2 separate regions of the Homo sapiens genome follow, and region 2 is linked to region 1. Evidence: promoter capture Hi-C in 16 types of primary human blood cells and fetal thymus (Javierre and others, 2016). All regions are on one chromosome and are shown on one strand. Each heading gives the region's core, a stretch centred on a gene start or on the middle of the fragment in contact. The rest is flanking DNA. Distances are from core to core; before and after follow the strand shown. Region 1 holds the start of WDR53 (WD repeat domain 53). Region 2 overlaps PAK2 (p21 (RAC1) activated kinase 2).

Region 1 (3,409 bases), core at 817-3,316:
ACTGCAACCTCCGTCTCCCAGGTTCAAGCGATTCTTGTGCCTCAGCCTCCTGAGTAGCTGGAACTACAGGCATGCACCACCACGCCCGGTTAATTTTTGTATGTTTGGTAGAGATGGGGTTTCACCATGTTGGCCAGGCTGGTCTCAAACTCCTGACTGCAGGTGATCCGCCCGCTTCGGCCTCCCAAAGTGCTGGGATTCCAGGCGTGAGCCACGGCACCCGGCCGAGAGCATTTTTTAAAAGGGTGAAGTGCCACAGCCGGCAGTTCTCATCAGCCAGAGCGCAGAATGAGAGTACTGAACATGGGGAAGGGGCTTGGTGGGGTGGGTGATGAGCAGGTGAAAGATTTGTAAAAAAGAAAAGGAGGGGTTGAGAAGGGTAATCTTACTTTGAAATTCTACCTGGGGCGCTCAGGAGACGGTCTGCCGTTGAAAGTCACCTCAGCGGCTGGACTAGATTAGTAAGAATGACAACATCGCATCCTTCAAAGGCTCTGCCTCGGCTGCACTGAGACACGATAAAGGCCAGTCTTTAAAAACTGAGTGATCTCTAAACACTCTGCACTAGTCATACCACCACCGTCCCGTTCAAGAGTCTGTGCCTCTAAGGCTGTTCATTCTGTCTAGTTCATGATCCCTTTCTCAGATGGATCAACTCTGCTTATCCTTGAAGACTTCAAAGAAATTAGTGAGAGACAGTCACCATCACCAGAGTCAGCACAGGTCAACTTTTCTCTACAGGCTTGGGGTTTCTGAAGTTGGACTTGATGTGGAGAAGCTGGATAGCAACCAAAATGATTGAAGGGCTGTGGCGCTGGCACTGGTAAGAATGAAAAGAATTAGGGTTACTGGACTTGGTGAAAAAGACATGAGGAGAAGGGACAGGCAAATAATAATCAAACACCATGAATCAGAGGGTAGGGAAGGTAGCCACCGTTCCTTTGCTTTTACTAGAGACTAAGAAATGGATTATACATAGCAAGAAGCTTCAGAAAAGATTTCTTACTACATAAAGGTTCCAAGACATTGGAGTTGACCAAGGGAGTCTGTGAACCCTATTATTTTAATTACTCAGCTCATGGAGTTGTTTTGAGGATTACGTATATAAAAATCTGCGTAAATGACGTAGTATACAGTGCCTGGTTCACACCGTGGCTCAAATGATGGTTATTATTATTCTCTTACTAAGCATGCTTTAAAGGCTGTCGGAAAACTTTGGGGCCACCTAGGAAATCGTAGTATAATCAAATAATGCTGAAATTCTTGTGTGTGTGTGTGTGTGTGTGTGTGTGTGTGTGTGAGGTAGGGGCTCACTCTGTCGCCCAGGCTGGAGCACAGCAGGGCGATTACGGTTCACCTCAGCCTCGACCTCCCGGGCTCAGCCTCCCAAGTAGCTGGGACCAGAGGCGCACGCCACCACCCTCGGCTAATTTTTCTATTTTTTTGTAGCGACACTGCCTCGCAATGTTGCCCAAGCTGGGATGCTGAAATTCTTCCCCTTCCAAGAATCCATCTATAATTATAGCCTCCACGTCATTCTCCCTATTGGAATGTTTAATTGACTAAAACTACATTGCCTTCATCTGCTTACTAAGCGGTGGATCCAGTAAAGACCACATCTTGTCCAAAAGACGGCAGCACTTAATTAGCGCTCAAATGGCACTCGAACGTTTGGGCGAGGGGGTGTTCAGTCGCAGCCACCTTACTTTGCGAAGGCACACAGGGACAGACGTTCGCTAAGTGCCGATACTTAGGGAGAACGAGAGGGCCTGACCAGGTAAAGACGGCCTCCGCTGCCCAAGCTACACAAAAAGGTTGGGGAGCCAGGACCCGGCAAGCAAGGAGAGAAAAGTTTCATGCGTTGAGCTGGAGTCTGAAGCAAGGACCTAACGGACACAGGGAAACGTCACAGGAAAGGGAGCCCAGGAGAGCAGACGCGGAGCCACCAGACCAGAAAAAGGAAAAAGCACTGGAAAACAGCATCGAAGTCACCGGAAAGCAGCATCGAAGCCACCGGCGCCAGCCTCATACCTGCGCTTCCCGCTCCCCTCCTCGGCGCCTAGTGATAACCTCACCCGCCGGCGCCCAATCCCGTCGAGCGTCAGGCGTGAGGCGGCGCAGCCAAACAGTCACATCCGGGGCCGAGAGGAACCGCGAACGAGCTGGGCGTGCGCCCTTGCTTCGTGCCCTCAACCCGCATGGCGGAGCCGCTGGCGCGCCGCGGAGAGGCCGGGCGAGTCGGGCGGTTTCGGCGCCCGCGCTGAGCCGCGGAGGAGGGGCGGAGGACGCCCCTGCAGCCGGTGCGTCTGCCCTCAGTGAGGCGGGGCGCGCGGCGGACGCCCCCGGGCAGGGGCGGGAGTGGTGGAGGCGCCGGCGGTTGGCACTGACAGGGGCGGTGAGCGAGCCGCTCCGGTCTCCGGGCGAGGCTTGGCCTTCCGAGCAGAGACGGCGGGAAGCGGCGGCGGCAGCGGCGGCCCTAGGGCCGGCTGGTGAGGCGATGGCGGCGCCGGCCCCGGGGGCTGGGGCAGCCTCGGGCGGCGCTGGCTGTAGCGGCGGCGGCGCGGGCGCGGGCGCGGGCTCGGGCTCTGGGGCCGCGGGGGCCGGGGGCCGGCTGCCCAGCCGGGTGCTGGAGTTGGTGTTCTCTTACCTGGAGCTGTCCGAGCTGCGGAGCTGCGCCCTGGTGTGCAAGCACTGGTACCGCTGCCTGCACGGCGATGAGAACAGCGAGGTGTGGCGGAGCCTGTGCGCCCGCAGCCTGGCAGAAGAGGCTCTGCGCACGGACATCCTGTGCAACCTGCCCAGCTACAAGGCCAAGGTGAGAGAGCCCCGGGCCACACCGCTGCCCCCAGTCCCGCTCCCCGGCGTCGTTCGCGGTGTTTCTCATCCGAGCTTCTGAGTCAGAAGCTTCGCCTCACCAGCCCGCCTTTCCACGGCTCCAGTCAGTATCTTCCTCACCTCCCCCCAAGATAAAGATTCTCTTTTCTTTGGATCGAAGTTCTGCTCCTTAACCCATCCCACTTCCGTGATCCACTTTTCAAACAACTAGGTAGTTTGCCTCACTCATTCAACTTTTGACAGTTTTCCCCGTTAAAGACAGACCACCACTCTTGTACCTTTTAATGCCCTCATCCTACTTTTCTCCCCGGCCTCCAGATAGACTTCATTATATTAAATAATCCCGGCCACCTTAACATGGGCTTAGTTTCTAAGTTTCTAAGTTTCTAGTTTGCTTTCACTCCACGTTTATCTCATCTTTTCCAAGCTCTGATTTTTAACCATTTGTTTTCATTATTTTCCCCCAAGTTCTCTTTAGTTCCCTCCACTATATTGGAGGCTTACAAGTGAGTGTAGTTCTAGTCATCCTGCTCACTTACAAGATACAGGCTTTTATAGAACGTCCACGGGCACC
Region 2 (3,206 bases), core at 397-2,896, 220 kb after region 1:
TCCCTTACTGCTTTCCTTACTAAAAAAACAGCTAATATTTTTATAAAAAGAAAATAAAGACTCTAGGATGTTTTCACTTATTAATTACTGGTTTTAATTGGTATCACCAAAAAACTCGAAAATTATCCTTTTGGATCGTGCCGTTTTAAGGCAACTTGACAGAACAGATCTTTTTTCCATGCTTGCTAATGTGTGTACTATGTGAATAATCAGAGATGAGTGATAAAGCAGATAGTGTCCCTGCTCCCACGACAGCAATCTCAAACCATGGTATAGAATTACAAGCCATGAAAAGTGGTACAGAGGCAGTGCACAACATGTGTCCAATCTGCAGTGTCTGGGAAGGCTTCCTAAGGAGGTCATAATAGAGCTGAAGACTGCAGGATGGGTAAGGGAAACGATAGTTACAAAGTGTGTTCCATGCCCGGGAAGAGCCTGTTTCAGTGGCCCACCTACAGGAGGGATCAGAGCACATCCATGGAGCTGAGTGCCGCCCGGTGTTACTGGAAAGCAGAGAGGGAAGGACAGAGAATTACAGCAGGGTGTATGTAGGCACTACAGACAGCAGAAGAGGCTGAAGAGGTAGGCAGTGACCAGGTCATAAAGGGCCTTGTATTCTATGCTACAGAGCTCACATTTTATCCTGTTTCCTGGGGAACCATTACAGATTTTTAATCAGGGGAAAGACCTGGCCATCTCTCTGTTTTAGTTAGGAGAGAATGGTAGGTATATAGAAAAAAGGTTTTGTTCGAAGTGTGAGAGTGAAGTTGGAAACTAGTTAGGAGGCTTTTGCTGTAGCCCAAGTGAGAAATGGCCTAACTAGTCTACTAGTTTAAATAATGAAAATGTCAGTGAGCCATTTGACTTTTTAAAATAAGCTTTATTCATACAGCTAGAGTTGGATGGTATTGTCTTTATTAACTAAAGCAATTTTCACATCTAGCTATTCAACCTATAAGCACCTTCACTTCTGGTTGGTTATGACTTAGATCTGTAAACAACCTTTCTGATTAAAAAAATGAATTCTGAGATTAATAATAGTAACCCATACTTCTCTGCCTATTTCCTAGAGGAGTGGTCCCCAACCTTTTTGACACTGGGGTAATGGTTTCATGGAAAACAATTTTTCTTTTTTCTTTTTTGTTTCATCTTGTTGCCCAGGCTGGAATGCAATGGCGTGGTCTCAGCTCACTGCAACCTCCGCCTCCTGGGTACAAGCAATTCCCCTGCCTCAGCCTCCCGAGTAGCTGGGACTAGAGGTGCACGCCACCACGCCCAGCTAATTTTTTTGTATTTTTAGTAGAGACAGGGTTTCACCATGTTGACCAGGCTGGTCTCGAACTCCTGACCTCAGGTGATCTGCTCACCTCAGCCTCCCAAAGTGCCGGGATTACAGGCGTGAGCCACCGTGCCTGGCCGGAAAACAATTTTTCTGTGGGGCTGACGGGGGGGTGGTTTCGGTATGAAACTCTTCCACCTCAGATCATCAGACATTAGTTAGATTCTCATAAGGAGTGTGCAGCCTAGATCCCTCTCATGCGCAGTTCACAATAGGGTTTGCGCTCCTATGGGGATCTAATGCTGCCACTGATCTGACAGGAGGTGGCGCTCAGGCGGTGGTGCTCACTCCCCACTGCTCACCTCCTGCTGTGCCACCCAGTTCCTAACCGGCCATGGACCTGTACTGGTCCACGGCCCTGGGGCTGGGGACACCTTTCCTAGAGAATTCTCTGCTGTGTCATGGAATTTGAAGCTATTACACATCAAAAGAACAAAGGAGGAATTACTTATGGTTAGACTAGAAACAGAAGAGTCTTCCTTTTAAACAGATAAAGGGTTTCTTTTATTTGTTTGTTTAGCCTTAGATGTAGCTTGAAAGCAGTCTAAAAGGTAGTGCCCTAGAGAATGTGACAGTAGCCTACTTAGGATTCTTTTCAGTACCTTTTGTCAACATGTGACTCAGGGTCTCTGCCTCTTGGCTGAAGGTTGCTGCCTGCCTGCTGCTGCTGTTTTGTTGTCTAATGAAGTTGGAAAATGATTCTAAGAATCTTTTTTTCTCCTAGGACACTAGTTAAATTGTTTATTTTATTAAAATAAGTTTTTTGCCCTGGTCTATTACTTCCCATCAAGTGATCTGGTTGCCTGGTGAACCTCCCGTAGATGGTTGTGTTTGATAAGCAGAAGTGGGAAGTTGACCTCCTTTCATTTTATGAAACATGAACAGATTTCAGATTTCTCCAAAGCTAAGGTGTAACATGTAGGGGTCCGTCCCGCAGACCCTGACCCAATGACGGATGAATAACTTACACTGACACAGATGTTATGCTTGTCAGTCCAGCTGAGAGTCCGGGCCACTTACAGACTCCCAGGAGAGTGCTGTAAAGCGTTGCAACCATCGGCCTCAACTAGCCAAGGAAGCTTGCATTTATTTAGTATAGATTAATTGACAAAGGCTTGAGTCAACACACCTGTGGGTAATTCACCTGGTCGCCCCCACCCTGGAGAGGGCCATCTTGCCCACCAATGATCAAAGGTTAGTCTTAGGACCACATGAGTAAACAAGCTCTTTAGATAAACTACTTTATATTCCTTTGTATCTGTACCTTAAGCTCTCTGGCTCCTGAAAAGAGAATCTGGCTACCTTCAGCCAAACTTTGAAGCTATGCAAAACTCCCCGGCCTTCCAAGCAGGTTTGCTTTTTTCTATTCCTATAATTTCTTCTGCCATCCTGACTGAACCCCCACATCTACATAAATTTATTGTGATTGGCCCTCTATTTCTGGGCTTCTAGAGTCGTTATATAAGAGTATTAAAGACATTCTGTTGGTATAGCAATATCTTTCCAGCACATTGTTCAATTCCAGACATGCTTTAGTATCTTTTTGTTTTAGACACTGTTTCTAATATCCTTTCCTTTTCCCATTGAGACTATTAAAATACAGAGAGTACCTGTATGTGTGTTATGTAAAAACAAATGGCATTGAACAGATTTTTAGGATTTTATGTTTATTTTGAATGATCTAATGTGGCTCTATCTCAAGTTCTGCTTAATCGTTTTTGTGTTTTTCCTTTAACTTTTTACTCTATACTCCTATCATATATGAAACTTTAATATATTTCTCTAAACTCTTAACGTTTCCAAGTTGAAGAATATGACTAGGCCTTAGACACAACAGGAACCAGGAATACTCTTGCTAGATATGTTA

Evidence for each region. Contacts are between HindIII fragments. The CHiCAGO score rates a contact against its expected background, and 5 or more counts as called.
Region 2: a contact is called between a fragment that was not itself captured here and the fragment with the promoter of WDR53 in region 1, in 2 of 17 cell types (M1 macrophages and M2 macrophages). The highest score is 5.8, in M1 macrophages.

The regions. Positions count from the first base shown.
Region 1 is chr3:196,566,488-196,569,896 of GRCh38, forward strand. It overlaps WDR53 (WD repeat domain 53), which reads right to left and starts at 2,067. Exons shown (of 4, transcript NM_182627.3): 1 at 2,032-2,067; 2 at 390-820. FBXO45 (F-box protein 45) reads left to right here and starts at 2,173. Exons shown (of 3, transcript NM_001105573.2): 1 at 2,173-2,815. The coding sequence starts at 2,498. RefSeq lists an enhancer at 209-1,408 and silencers at 2,130-2,669, 2,791-3,085. The HindIII fragment of the contact is 1,918 bases long and covers 985-2,902 here.
Region 2 is chr3:196,788,347-196,791,552 of GRCh38, forward strand. The region is part of intron 2 of PAK2 (p21 (RAC1) activated kinase 2); the gene reads left to right. Among named protein-coding and RNA genes, the nearest start is that of PAK2, 50 kb to the left of the region's middle. The HindIII fragment of the contact is 1,540 bases long and covers 877-2,416 here.